Regions from separate parts of the Homo sapiens genome. Here all the other regions are linked to region 1. The links are contacts of gene promoters, found by promoter capture Hi-C in blood cells and fetal thymus (Javierre and others, 2016). All regions are on one chromosome and are shown on one strand. Each heading gives the region's core, a stretch centred on a gene start or on the middle of the fragment in contact. The rest is flanking DNA. Distances are from core to core; before and after follow the strand shown. Region 1 holds the start of DDX6 (DEAD-box helicase 6). Region 2 holds the start of CD3D (CD3 delta subunit of T-cell receptor complex). Region 3 holds the start of CBL (Cbl proto-oncogene). Region 4 holds the start of HINFP (histone H4 transcription factor). Region 5 holds the start of KMT2A (lysine methyltransferase 2A).

What was found. The method cuts DNA at HindIII sites, captures the fragments that hold promoters and counts their contacts. A CHiCAGO score of 5 or more calls a contact.
Region 2: a contact is called between the fragment with the promoter of CD3D here and the fragment with the promoter of DDX6 in region 1, in 1 of 17 cell types (fetal thymus). The highest score is 5.2, in fetal thymus.
Region 3: a contact is called between the fragment with the promoter of CBL here and the fragment with the promoter of DDX6 in region 1, in 1 of 17 cell types (neutrophils). The highest score is 5.1, in neutrophils.
Region 4: a contact is called between the fragment with the promoter of HINFP here and the fragment with the promoter of DDX6 in region 1, in 1 of 17 cell types (non-activated CD4 T cells). The highest score is 5.2, in non-activated CD4 T cells.
Region 5: the fragment with the promoter of KMT2A here is called in contact with the fragment with the promoter of DDX6 in region 1 in 1 of 17 cell types (fetal thymus); the score reaches 5.8 in fetal thymus.

Annotation. Positions count from the first base shown.
Region 1 is chr11:118,789,877-118,792,576 of GRCh38, forward strand. DDX6 (DEAD-box helicase 6) reads right to left here and starts at 1,288. Exons shown (of 14, transcript NM_004397.6): 1 at 1,222-1,288. RefSeq lists enhancers at 1-445, 1-83, 1,394-1,503, 2,120-2,675 and silencers at 284-363, 994-1,323, 1,774-2,063. The HindIII fragment of the contact is 4,863 bases long and covers 1-1,471 here.
Region 2 is chr11:118,341,255-118,343,954 of GRCh38, forward strand. It overlaps CD3D (CD3 delta subunit of T-cell receptor complex), which reads right to left and starts at 1,451. Exons shown (of 5, transcript NM_000732.6): 1 at 1,299-1,451. The coding sequence starts at 1,353. The HindIII fragment of the contact is 13,588 bases long and covers 1-2,700 here.
Region 3 is chr11:119,205,009-119,207,708 of GRCh38, forward strand. CBL (Cbl proto-oncogene) reads left to right here and starts at 1,331. Exons shown (of 16, transcript NM_005188.4): 1 at 1,331-1,604. The coding sequence starts at 1,410. RefSeq lists silencers at 839-908, 949-1,338, 1,409-1,598, 1,789-1,848. The HindIII fragment of the contact is 20,442 bases long and covers 1-2,700 here.
Region 4 is chr11:119,120,180-119,122,879 of GRCh38, forward strand. HINFP (histone H4 transcription factor) reads left to right here and starts at 1,401. Exons shown (of 10, transcript NM_198971.3): 1 at 1,401-1,460. RefSeq lists a silencer at 1,135-1,414. The HindIII fragment of the contact is 5,005 bases long and covers 1-2,233 here.
Region 5 is chr11:118,435,044-118,437,759 of GRCh38, forward strand. It overlaps KMT2A (lysine methyltransferase 2A), which reads left to right and starts at 1,449. Exons shown (of 36, transcript NM_001197104.2): 1 at 1,449-1,901. The coding sequence starts at 1,470. RefSeq lists enhancers at 421-1,418, 618-757, 1,419-2,417, 2,418-2,716 and a silencer at 1,068-1,547. The HindIII fragment of the contact is 8,732 bases long and covers 1-2,716 here.

The DNA of each region.
Region 1 (2,700 bases), core at 38-2,537:
CTACCCCTTCCCAATTTAGATTTGCAAGTTTTCTACATTTTCAAAAACAAAAAACAAAAAAACAAAAAACAAACAACAAGAAACGTAGACTAGTTGGGAGGAGCCCCTAGCGGAGTTAATTACAGCACTTCACAGATCGTAGTTAGCAATTGACAGTTTCACACCCAAAACAGTATCGTCATCGCCAACAAGAGCTTTTGTTTGCAAATGCAGCGCAGTTTTTCTAGCTTTGCCTGCAAGTTGGAGTGACTGGGTTTTATTCTGAAGGGAAATGGGGGCTGAGGAAGAGAAAGGAGAGAGATACGGGAAAGAGTCATTGACTAATGACTGGAACCCCGTAACTGAAAGGAAATTTCTTGTCCCCCCGCACCCCGCCCCACGCCCCAAACACACACACTTCTGACCATAAACACAAAAGGTTGGGGCTCTGCAATCTTATCTGCGCAATATGAGCCAGCAACCGCTCCATTAGTAGCAAACAATAGGGACTCCCCCAAGGAGGCCCCAAATGGACCCCCTAAACCAGAAATCCCCCTCCTTTCCTCCAAGAGTCGGGGGCTCCATAAATACCCTCTTGTTATTGACCCGCAAGGCCTACTGCAATCAAGCAGCGGCCGGTTTGCTTCTAAACCGAGCCCTCCAATACAGCATGTCCCTGCCGCCCCCTATAGGGCCGCCTCGTACCCTATAACCTCCACCATCATCCCCCTAAGTCCTTGCCGCCCCCTTCGGCCTCATATTCCCTCATCTTCGATAAAGCTACTCCGAGTACTTAGCCTGTTCCTCCTGCCGACCCTGCTGCGCACCACATTCCTATATTCGCCTCCTCTCAGGCGCTCCCACCCCACACAGCTGCCGACCGCCTTCCTCCCCAGGCCCGGCCAGGCCTTAGGCCTCCGCCCGAGAGTCCCCCAGAGCCGGCCCGGGGGGCTCCCCACAGCCCCCAAAGCACCGCTGACCTCGACCCCACCACCTCACCCCAAGCCTCGCGACTCGGGCCCGTGTCCTACCAACGAGGCCACTCCCGCTCGGCACCCTCGGTCCTTTATTGTTGACTCGAAGCTCCCAAAATGGCGGACGCTCCTTCCTCCTCGGAAACCTCCGCCCGCCCCCACCCAGCCCTCTCGCTACGGCCTCCTCTCGCCCCCGCCCCCGCCCCGCTCCGAGGGGCGCGCAGGCCAGCCGCCCGAGCCGCCGGCTCCCCCGGCTGTCCAGCCCTACCTCCTCCGCTGCCCGCTCTCGTGGCGCCGCCGAAGTCGCCGCCTGGCTGAGCTAACTCGGCTCCTCTGCCCCCTCCCTCGCTCGCCCGTTCGCCCGCCCGCCGCCTCCTCCCTCTTTCCCTGCCTCTCCGCATGGCGGCGACCGCGGCTCCTCCTCCACTCAAGATGGCGAAACCTCGGCCGCCGCGGCTATATTCGCCGCGGCGTCACTGCCTTCCTGGCCTGGTGGTGAGAGGAAGTCGGGCCGCGAAAGCTTCCTGAGGAGAAAATGGAGGGCCCTTCTCTCACACCGACGAGAAAAGTTCGAGGGGGAAATACGAGTTCCTTTCTGAAGGGACAGGACGGCTGCTTTTCCACAGCCGCGACGTGATTGAGAAATGGTGGCTGGCAAGGGTAGGCCTGCCTTCGCCCCTCCAAAGTAAAAATCGGGAGTTGAGACCAGAGGAACATCTCTTTATTACATGACTAAGGATATGTTTTGAAAACTGGCCCCCGGGCAGCTGCTCGGGGACAGGAAGCTGACCTGACTTCTCCAGCTGGCCGGGGAGGCTGATGCCGGGCCTAAGGGGCCGCGTCCGAGCCTCTCGGGGCGCGCCTCCATGCAGGAAGGCGCGGAACTAGCGACCCGGAGACGCCGGGCGCGCGTCTGAGTGTGGGGGCAGGAAGGGGGGCCGACCGGGCCCGGAGGCCGCACCAGGCAGGAGGGAGGACTCCAGAGAGTGCGCGGGGGGCGCTGCGCGGTGGGACGGGGCGAGCCTGTAGGGCGCGCCTGGCGGCGGGTAGGCTCCGGGCTTGAGGGTGCGCCTGGGGGCGCTGGTTGTGGGGGAAGGCACCGGGCTTGAGGGTGCACCTGGGCGGGGGAAGTCTTCGGGCATGAGGGCGCGCCTGCGGGTGGTATGGGGGGGTACACCGAGCTTGAGGGTGCGCCCGGGGGGCTCTCATGTGAAGGGTACCAGGCTTGAGGGCGCCCCTGCGGGGGGCGCAGAGGCACCGAGCTTGAGGGTGCGCCTCGGGGGTCTGCGGGGGGAAGGCACCGGACTTGAGCGTGCGCCGGGAGAGGACGGCGGGGGACCGGACTGTGAGGGCGTATCTTGGGGGACCTGTCTAGGAGGAACCGGGAGGTGAAGGCACAACTGGGGGTGAGGCGGGGGCAGGGGCCGGGCTGTGAGAGTGCGACTGAGGGGGGATTACTCCGGAGAGCACGGAGCTGGGGGCGTTGCGCAGGTGGAGTGGGGAGGCCTGGTGGAGAGGGTAGCAAACCGAGAGAGCGCACCGGGGTGGTGGGGGGAGAAGCTGGACTGTAAGGTGAAGAGTTAGTAGGGCGCAACCGTCTTCTCCTGCCCTCGAAGGGCAAGACTGAAGAAAGTAGGGGCGGAGGAGGCCGGGCCCTCCACTAAAGGGAGGGAAGCTAGTGAAGCGTCAGTTATAATAGAAATAGGAATTCAGTAAGGAAATGGAGAAGCTTAAGGCAAAGGGTGAC
Region 2 (2,700 bases), core at 201-2,700, 450 kb before region 1:
AGGAAAAAAATTTTATTGAATCCATCCCTAGAGCTCCTCACAAGTCAAGTCTTGTGGGAGACTTTTAGGGCTGGAGGTGAGTGCAGCAACATTCCAGATGCAGTGAGTTCCTCTGACAGCCTGAGCACATCTCCACAGGCCACAGAGGCACTACAGTCTATGCCTCCAAACACAGGGAAAAGTGGAGGCTACATTCATTCATCCTGGGCTTCACACTAAGTCCCAAATTTGGATACAAGAGCATCTTCTAGAAAACCCTGAAACAGCTGTTGCTCACACTTCTGAAGCAGGTTGGAAGTATATGCATGTATCCTCAGGGAGACACATGCACATCAAATGCTTCACGTCCTACAGTCGCGTCCTCTTCAGGGATCTGTCTCCAGTGGAAATCCTGAGTGCCCTAGTGCAGCCAACTATTAGGTGACCATTGGACCCAGTTTGCTTAGTGTTGAAGGGGTTCCTCGGACATGGGACTTTCCATTTTAAAACTGAAATTGGCAAACTGAGATGAGTTAAAATCCTACCATGTAACAACCCCTCAAATCTTCCCTCCGTCCTGCTCAACCTAAAGTTAACTTCTCTTAAAGCATTCACATAAGTGCTAGGACATGCCTCCAGGGATGACATAATCATGGCCAAACAAACAAGAGTCCTGATTCCAGAGGCCATCAGGCCTAAAAGGAGTAGTGCAGGAAGCTGTGCTCCCATGGCCAGTCCCAGATTCAGGTACATACGTACTGAGCTATTTTCTGCAGATCTCTGGCCTAAGGCCTTCTGAGAGACATTCTAGGCCCACATGCACCCATGGCTGGAGTCAGTCAAAGCCAAGAGCCTGTTTCCCAGACTCTATGCTACATCCTGCCCCTGCCCTCCTGACACCCCTGGGGTGCCTGGTGAACTGAAGCTAGCACCGAGAAGCACTTTTTTTTTTTTTTGAGATAAGGTCTCACAGGTTGCCTAGGTTGGAGGGCAGTGGCATGATCACAGCTCACTGAAGCCTTGAAATCCCGGGCTCAAGTGACCCTCCTGCCTCAGCCTCTCAAATAGCTGGGACTACAGTTGTGCACCACCATGCCTGGCTAATTCTTTTGTTTTTTGTAAAGATAGAGTCTCATCATGTTGCTCAGACTGGTCTCAAACTCCTGGCCTCAAAGGATCCTCCCACTTCGGCCTCCCAAAGCTCTGGGATTACTGGTGTGAGCCACCGTGCCTGGCAAGAAACACTTTCAAGTGGGCCTCACTCCCATCAGTAATGTCCCTCTCAGGTCCCTTCCCCCACCCACCTGGAGTAGCCTTACCTTGCGAGAGAAGGGTAGCCAGTACCAGGCCAGAGAGAAACGTGCTATGTTCCATCTCCCAGCGGAACTCATCCAGTAGATAAAGCCAGGTCACCGAACTATCAGCCTGGGTGAGAGCTGCCCTCCCCTAGCTGACTCACAGGTACCGGAAAGAGGAGAGTGGGGGAGGAACTAGAAGATGTCTGCTTCTCTGCTTTCTGCCGTTGATGGTGGGAAATTTTCAGAGTGGGGGTGGGCTAGGGGTAGGGTAGGAAGGAAGCGGTGTAAATTGCTCTATCTCTGAGCAGGGAGCTGGCAGAGAATATGGAAAAGGTGGCCTGAACTTTAGCGTCCCTATTGACAATGCAACCACATTTACACACAACCTAAACACTGCCACATCTCGAAGCCCCTTGAGAGAAGCCGTCGGCCCCATAGCGCAAGCCGTAGCAGCTAGATTTCTCATGGAGGCTGATCTTTCTCAGGACCCTTCACTAGGCAGCCAGGGACACCAGATCTAGCAGCTTCTTGTCAGTGGGAGGTTGGGCTTTAGAGACCCCAGCCAGAGATTTGAATCCTGGGTCCAATACTGCCTACCTGTGGGGCCTGGGCCAGCCATAAAATTTTTCAGAGTCTTATTCCATTAGTACCATTATTAGGATTCAAACAAGATATTTGCATGGTGCCTCACGCATCATATGTGCTCATTAAGGGGTAGTTATTAATAATAATATAATTGACTGACAGGCAATATTGAGCCTCCCGGTGAGACAAATGGACCTTTTTCCCCTGTGGCCTACGAGGATCTGAAACTCTTCACGCTGCTGCAGTTAGACTGTCACTTACCTGGGGACAGAGTCATGCCTGTCTTGCTCACTGCTGTATCTTGTGCCTGGCACATAACGGGAGCTCTGCACATTTTTGTTGGCTCACTGACTGACTGGCTGAGGGAGATAGGGGCCTGAGATCCTGGACATTCAGTCCGGGCTCTGGCCCCTGAAAATGTGCTGGCCTGTCCTCGGAATTGTTCCACCTATTGCCTTCCAGGCGCCTCTTTCATGATCTCAAAAGAATAGTGAAACCAGGTGCCGTGTCTCACGCCTGTAATCCCAACACTTTGGGAGGCTGAGGCAGGTGGATCACAAGGTCAGGAGTTCGAGACCAGCCTGACCAACAAGGTGAAACCCCGTCTCTACTAAAAATACAAAAATTAGCCGGGCTTGCTGGCACGCACCTGTAATCTCAGCTACTCAGGAGGCTGAGGCAGGAGAATCGCTTGAACCCCGGAGGTGGAGGTTGCAGTGAGCTGAGATAGCGCCACTGCACTCCAGCCTGGGCAACAAAGTGAGACTCTGTCTCAAAAAAGAAAAAGAAAAAAAAAGTGAAAAAAATTCCTGAATGAAGGCCTGGACTGAGGTGGCTT
Region 3 (2,700 bases), core at 81-2,580, 420 kb after region 1:
AGGATGCCTGTCTGAATGGTCCCTGCATTCAAAGATATTTTCCCCTTTACAGGAGCACCGGATAAATTTAACTCCCTAATCTGTCAAGGGCTTTGTGGAAGAGCCTGGAGGGGGATCGAAGGCGGAACTGATACTGACACACCTGGGTCTGCAAACTCCCAAAACTGAGGCTCAGAATTAGTAAATTAGGGCAGGGCACTTCCCTCTTTGGAAGGGAAGTTCCTATTTTCAAAGTTCTTCCAACGGAACTTTTACATTAGAGAAGTGTAATTGACTGAGAAGTGGAAGTGACCAGGAACAGCATTTCTGTTCCCTGGGCGGGAGAGAGAACCCCCTCGGGCGGAGCCAGCAGCAGGTCAGCTTCTGAGGGGGCCCTCATGCTGGCGGCGCCGACCTGTGGTGCAATGCTCTGAGTAGGAGAATCTTAAATACATGTTTGAGATTCAATTCCCAGAAACGTAACTAGTCTTCACAAGCCAAAAAAATAAAAATAAAAAATAAAAAAAGGAAGTGATTTCTTTTCAAGAGGTCAAAGGGCCTGGAAGAAGAGGTCCTGGCTTGAGTGTCTCAAGGCTTTCTGGGGCCTAATCCGGCTGGAATGGGCCGCAGCATTCATATTCCTGTCCTTGGTCGTGTCTTAATGAAGAATTGAAAATAATAAGGGGTGGAGAAATAACTTTCCTTTTTCTCCCACCATCCTCCCACAGTGTAAATAAACAAATAACTCTAAGCTCGATTTCCTCATTTGTCAGGGGTGGGGAAAGACTTGACATCAGGACTCTTCCATTCCATCGCCACCTGTCTTAATTTAAACATTCCCATGACCCACCCCAGAAGCGCCAACCTCCCGCCCACAAGGAGCATGGAAGTCTTGGTTTCTGGCTACTGCGCAGACTCCACCTTGGACCTACTCCCCAACCCCCCGCCGCTCCTTTCCCCGTTTCTCCAGCAGAGGGCGCAGGCCCAAAGGTTCCGCCGACCCCGCCCCAGCCTGGCCCCGCCCCGCCCCGGCGTAGGGGCGGGGAAGACGGGCACAGAAACCTGGCCGCGGCTTTCCGGGAGCTGTGGGCACGCGAGCTGCTCGAAGCCGGTGGCCCGGGGATCGTCGCTGCCCAGTCCGGCCGCGGCCGGCCGCTTCCCCGAGCTTACCAGTAAGCCGGTCCGCCTCCGGGACGCGCCCCGCCCGCCCCGGGCTCGCGCGCTCTGAAGGGGCGCGTCCCGCGCACTCCCGGCGCCGCCCACTCCCCTCCCCACGGCCGCTCCTCCCTCCGCCCGGATAGCCGGCGGCGGCGGCGGCGGCGGCGGCGGCGGCGGCCGGGAGAGGCCCCTCCTTCACGCCCTGCTTCTCTCCCTCGCTCGCAGTCGAGCCGAGCCGGCGGACCCGCCTGGGCTCCGACCCTGCCCAGGCCATGGCCGGCAACGTGAAGAAGAGCTCTGGGGCCGGGGGCGGCAGCGGCTCCGGGGGCTCGGGTTCGGGTGGCCTGATTGGGCTCATGAAGGACGCCTTCCAGCCGCACCACCACCACCACCACCACCTCAGCCCCCACCCGCCGGGGACGGTGGACAAGAAGATGGTGGAGAAGTGCTGGAAGCTCATGGACAAGGTGAAAGGCCGGCTGAGCGCCCGCTGTTGCAGGGTGGGCGTGGGCGGAGGGCCGCGGGGAGGGGAACGAGCGGACGGAGGAAGCGGGGGAGGGGACGGGTCTGGTGAAGCCGGGGAGGCGCGGAGCCGGGGTGACCGGCCGGGGGCGTGGGGGCAGGGACGAGGCCGGGAGGGTGGGGGGCGGCGTGGGGGAGGGGCTGCCGTTGGGAGTCGGGGAACGCTGGGGTGCCGCGTTTGGGGTAGCCAGACAAAGATGGAGTGGGGGCTGGGGCGAAGGTTAACTGGGAAGTCAGTGGGGCGGAAGTACAATGAGGGGTGCGGAGTTTGGGGCTCTGTGCAGGGTGTAGGGATGTAGGTCACGGAATTGGCCTGGGAGGTTAGCAGGGAGGGGGTGAGGAAGAGTGATGTACCGGCTGGGGCTCTTGGCTGGGTGAGATCTGACTAGGGAATTAGGTTCATGGGCTCTGACTGAGGAACCTGGCTGGGGTCAGGACAGCTCTCAGGGAAGCTGTGCTCTGGGTGAGAGTATAGTCCTTTCTCATTAAGATGTAACACGAAGATAAAAGACATATTGATGTTTAAGTGAGGCAAGGAAAGAACTTTCCTCCCCATCTAGCGCCGGCTCAAGTTTTTTGTTACCCTCAGAAACACTGGATGTGATCCATTGCTGGTGCTGAGATATGCACTGATTAAACCACAAGTTCTGGTTAGAACTATTATCTTCTGAAAGATGGACTGGCTGAGCCTGTTAAGCAGCAGCAGATTCTGACTTCTTAATAACTTCCTCCCTACTACATCGCTTGAGCTGGGTTCTTTTTTTCTGGTAACGGTTCTGACTCCTTATTACAGGTCCTGACTTTAAACTTGTTCGTTGAGCTTCTTTGATTACGCTTTTTTGTTTGTTTGCTTTTTGCAAGTGCGAACAAAAATAACTCCTTTATATTTAGCCACTAAGTTTGTCATTTGGGAGAATTTTACTTCCTTATAGTTGTGTCTATATGATGAAATGTAGTCAGTCTCAAGTATTTAACTGTTTAAGCAGTCGGACGCTTTGTCAGAATTCAATACGTTTTCTTGGTATTTTTCATATTCTTTAA
Region 4 (2,700 bases), core at 151-2,650, 330 kb after region 1:
CTCCCGAGTAGCTGAGATTATAGGCGCCCGCCACGATGCCCAGCTAGTTTTTGTATTTTTAGTAGAGACGGGGTTTCCCCATGTTGGCCAGGCTGGTCTTGAGCTCCTGACCTCATGTGATCCACTCGCCTCGGCCTCCCAAAGTGCTGGGATCACAGGCGTGAGCCACGACACCCGGCCCACTGATGGAGTTATAAAGGTGAAGAACTAGTCTAGTGAAGAATGCAGACTGAGAGTAAACAGACAAATACAATGTGACTGAGCTGTATTGTTAAATACAAGAAAGGACTATCAGGAAGACTTTTTGGAAAAAGAAGCATCTACACTGAGACCATAAAAATTAGTAGGAGTCAGTCAAATAAATGTGGGAGGAGGAGAAAGGGATTATTCCAGGTAAAGAAAACAAGTTCAAGGCTTGAGAGGTAAAAGGTGGCTTGGTGTGGTGGAAAAGGTGAAAGAAATTTGCGACTGGAGAGCAAGAAATATGGTCGAGAAGGACTAAAAAAAAGTAGACAGGGAGAGCCCAGATGCTGAAGGGTCTAGAAAACCTCAGTATGGTTTTGGAGCTTTGCCCTGAAAGCAATAGAATGCCTTTGAATTGTCTGAAGCAGATGGTAACTTGATCAGGTCTGCTTTTTGCAAAGTGGAGAATGCTTTGGAAGGAAGCAAGTGTGCACGCAGCGGGACCCATTAGACTAATGTATAAATCCTGCCTGGAGGTCATCACTGGACAGGGGAGGTGGGGGAGGCGGTGAAGATAAACAAAAGGGGATAAATTTGAAATATCCTGTTTTAAAAGGAGGTAGAATCCACAGAACTTGGCAATGGATTGGATGTGAGAAGTGAGAGGAATCAGTGATGACTGCCAGCTTTCTGACCTGAACGAGTGGATGAAGGGAAGCCGAGTTTTGGGGGGAAAGAGAAACATATAATACCAACATTTAAAACATAATAAGACTAAGAGGCTGAAGGAAAGGGTAGAACCTTCAATCTGAGCCGAGCGGGGCCGACAGCGCTGGGCAGCATCCCACGCCTTTTTCTCCGCGAGGCCCACGCAACCAGCCAACTAAAGCGAAGAACCACGTGAGGGAGACCCCACTGCGCACCAGGCGCGAGCCCTGCGCATGCCCGTTGGGTCCCGGAGGCCGAGCCTGCGCAGTTAGGGGAACTCAGGCCCATAGGCTCCCCGCCTTTGCGTTGCCCTGAGCAGCGAGGCGCGGTCACGTGCTACCTTTTGCACGTATCCTGTCGCCCCTCTGTCCGCCCGGGACGCCTAGCCCCACCCACTGTTCCCGCCCCTTCCGTGTTTTGGTGCGCACGGGTTCCGCCAGACACAGCTACCATTGGCTGTCAGTCGGATCCGAGAACGACGATTGGCTTTCCTTGACCGTCCCTCAAGCGCCTCTCCGGAGATGGTCTGAGGTGGGAGAAGAGCTGAAGAGACCTGGAGCCGACAGACGGTAAGCTGGGGTATGTGCTCTGCAGGGGCTGCAGGAGGCCAAGCTCTTCCCGAGCCACCTCGGCGAGTATTCTTGCCGCTTGGCCACGCTGGTCTGCCCTGGTCCGGTCCCCTCACCCCGACTGGAACCTCCCTGCTTTCTAGTCTAGGGGCTTCGCTGCGGCTGAGACTCGGTCGCCGCCACGCCTTAGCGTGAAGGATTCCGGGAAGCCTGCGGGACTGCGAGTGGAGAGGTTTTGCCCAACGGGACGGTCTCCTTCCTTCTGTCCAAATTCTACCTGTCCTTCGAGGCGTGGTGCGGGCCCCACTGCTTAGGGGAGACTTCCTTTTCGCCTGACCGCGGAGGTGTCTCTCTGTCCTGGTCTCCCTCATCGGGTACTTTGTTTCGGTCGTTGTCTTCACGTATCAGTCTTATCTTTTTGGCCAAATTATGAGTTCTTAGGCGTTTAGGACCCTTTTTTTCTTGAATACCACAGTTCATTCATTGTCTTGCGTTACAGTATATGCCCTCTTAAGTGTTAAGAGGGTAGAGTGAAGATCATGCCCCTATCTCCTCAGAGTAGAAACAAGAGACACAGAAAGAGAAATTAAAGAAGACAGGAGGACAGTCAGAGAGCGTCAGGGAGTTTTGCCTAGGTTTCAGATCATTCTGTATCGCCAGCTAGCTTGCCTCCTTGGACTTACCCACCAGTCTAACAGCAGGTGTATGTTTAGAATATTTGTGCTCGGCACAGTGTAGGGACACGGGCAGGTGTGATATGGTTTCTGCTCAGAAGCTTCTTATAGTCCAATTGGGTAAACGAGACTAGAACACATAAAACGACCATGGCAACATGAAAATAGGGTTGAAGTTTTATGGTGTCAGCTGTGCCAGCCATAGAACTAAGGAGCAAGAGTAGATTCAGGGATGGGGTAGTTTAGGAAGGCTTCCCGGAATGTGATTATCTCCTGATATTTATTGAGTACCTGGGGTGTGCAAAGCTCTGTGCTGAATCTGAGAATGAGAAGTGAATAAGTGATGGCCACTGTCCTGAGAAACTCCTAGTCTAGGGGAAACAAGTTTCATTGCATTGATAGCAAAGATGTGTGTGGATGCCGTGGGCAAGAGATGGGATATGCCAGCTGTACCTGGATGAATTGGGAAGGGGGTCATCAAAGAGAAGACTTTGGGGTTTGAAAGGCGAATAGAAGTTGCATAGGTAGGCCTGTCGCGGTGGCTCACACCTGTAATCCCAGCACTT
Region 5 (2,716 bases), core at 199-2,698, 350 kb before region 1:
CCCCAGGCTGTAATATTACATGCAGTGCGCTGTACCGGTGCGGGAGTCCAGGAAGGCTGCATGACCTTCCAGCGAACTCCCCCTCGGCTTGGGGGATGGAGGCTGCCCCGGGGCCTGCAGGCTGTGTATCGATCCCCCAGCCTCAGCCAACGCAAGTTCTCCCGACACAAACCCCTCCCTACCCTCTCGGCTTTCCCAGCCTTGCAGGCGTCTAACGCTATGCTCGAGGCGCCCTCCCCTCTTTCCCGCAATAAAGTAAACCCGGTGGATATTCATTCCCCTCCCTAACTCGCCTCCTTCTTTCCCCCTCCCCCCTCAGCTTACTAACCCCGCGCACAGAGCTCGCCGCCGGCGGGCCCCTTCCACCCAGTGTATCATAATGCCCAACGCTCTCCTCCTCCCCCTCTCTTAATCAGAAACGTGCTCGCGAGCCCCCCTCCCTCTGCGTGCATACATTAGGGTCTGCTTTGCATGCAGCGGCAGGCAGAGACCGGAGGAAGAAGGGGCGGGGGCGCTTTTGCCCGCCTCTTCCCTCCAGGCCCCGTTAGCCACCCAGCTTCAGCTTCGTTGTAACACCGCGTCGTTAGCGGAGCACGCCGTGGCCTCAGTGCCCGGGCTGGAGAAACACAACCCAACTCCCTGCAGAAGGGCACGAAAGCCAGACGAGTGCACAGTAGAGCGAGGAGGTGGCAGGAGACCTGCCACTCGGTGTGTGCTTTTTGGAAAGAGCTCCAGCATGAAAATGGGAGGGGCTCCTTTTTTATTTTTTAAAGTGCGTTCATTGAGGGCCTTTCTGTTTTGCATATAGTAAACTGGGCAGCGCTTCTGTTTTGCATGTAGTACAATAAGGGCTCTTTTATTCTAGAAGCGTTCAATTCGGGCTAACCCATCTTGTATCCGTGCCCTGGGGCGGAGGAGAAGGCTCACTGCTCCCCGACCCAGCCGCCGCGTTATACTGGAAGCTGCTCTCCCGGGCTGTTCGATTCCCAGCGCGTCCCGGGAACGTGTGTAATCGGCCTCTCGGCGCTCAAGGCTGCAGGCGGCCCGGCTCCCTACGCCTCCATCCTCCGCGTAGTCCTCGCCCCCTCCCCCTCTCTCCGGAACCCGCGCTCTGCTCCGGGCTCCCGGGCTTCCTTCCCCCCTCCTTTTCCCGAGCAATGCCTCTCCCGGAGGGCGGGGCATGCAGTTATCCAGGTTGCGGGGCCGGCGGGCGGGCAGGAGGCGGCGGCCCGGGCCTCGGGATGGAGTTGCAGCGCCCAGGCGTCAGAGGCGGAGGCCCGAGGCCGCTATACAGATTGCGGGGCTGGCGGGCGCGGCCCGGCGCTCTGCATAGCGGCCGGCAGGGTGCAGGCGGCCGGGCGGCGCAGAGCTGGTTAGGCAGGTTCCGGGGCCCCGTGCCCCCCCCTCCGCCTCCCCGCCCCCCTGTGTTGTCGCCTCTCCCTCTCGCTGCTTCACTTCACGGGGCGAACATGGCGCACAGCTGTCGGTGGCGCTTCCCCGCCCGACCCGGGACCACCGGGGGCGGCGGCGGCGGGGGGCGCCGGGGCCTAGGGGGCGCCCCGCGGCAACGCGTCCCGGCCCTGCTGCTTCCCCCCGGGCCCCCGGTCGGCGGTGGCGGCCCCGGGGCGCCCCCCTCCCCCCCGGCTGTGGCGGCCGCGGCGGCGGCGGCGGGAAGCAGCGGGGCTGGGGTTCCAGGGGGAGCGGCCGCCGCCTCAGCAGCCTCCTCGTCGTCCGCCTCGTCTTCGTCTTCGTCATCGTCCTCAGCCTCTTCAGGGCCGGCCCTGCTCCGGGTGGGCCCGGGCTTCGACGCGGCGCTGCAGGTCTCGGCCGCCATCGGCACCAACCTGCGCCGGTTCCGGGCCGTGTTTGGGGAGAGCGGCGGGGGAGGCGGCAGCGGAGAGGTAAGGGGGCGAGGAACCCCCAGGTCCGGGGTCTCGACCCTCTGCGGAGCCCCCTCCCCTCCCCCATCCGGGATTGAGGAGCATCCCAATTCTGGGACCATCTCGGGGTCCCTGACCCGGGGCGAATGGCTCTCCCATCTTGGGACCCCCATGCAGGGCTGCAGACCCCCAGGCGCCCCCACCCCGGGGTTTGGGCCCATCTGGCTGAGGGCGTTTGCCCCCCGCTCTCCTCCCCCTGACCCTTCCCCAAATCCCTTGGCACAGACCCCCTCGCCGGGGTTTCCCATCCCGGGACTGAACCCCTCCTCCCTTTCACAGATTACCTCATCCGAGCAAGATTCCTCCCTCCCTCCCTCCTAGAGACCTGATCCCGCCACATCCCCGCCTCCCTCTCTGGGCAGATGTGTTACTCCTAGGGCAGTTTTCCTCTCGGGCGTCTCTCGGGTGATGGCCTCATCCAGGGCCACGTTCTCCTGGCCCTTGGGGATCGTGTCCCTTCCAGCACCTTGCTTTCGAAAACCCGATGAACCCTCGCGCCATCCCCGGGCCAGGTCCCTATACTGCCAGCCACTCCCCCTTCCTTCACCTCCACCCTCTACCCCCACCCCAAGCAGACCGATCCTCCCCCATCCCGCCCTACCCCACCGGGGAAAATCTCTCCTCTGCACCTTGCCTGGTCTCACCTCCTTTCCCTCTGAAGATAACGGTGATTCCTCATACAGCAGTCTCTTCCCCCCCCCGCCCCGTCTTACAGGGCTACAGTTTCTAGCCTATTGGTAGCCGGGAATTACTCTACCTTCACTCCACCCTTTCCC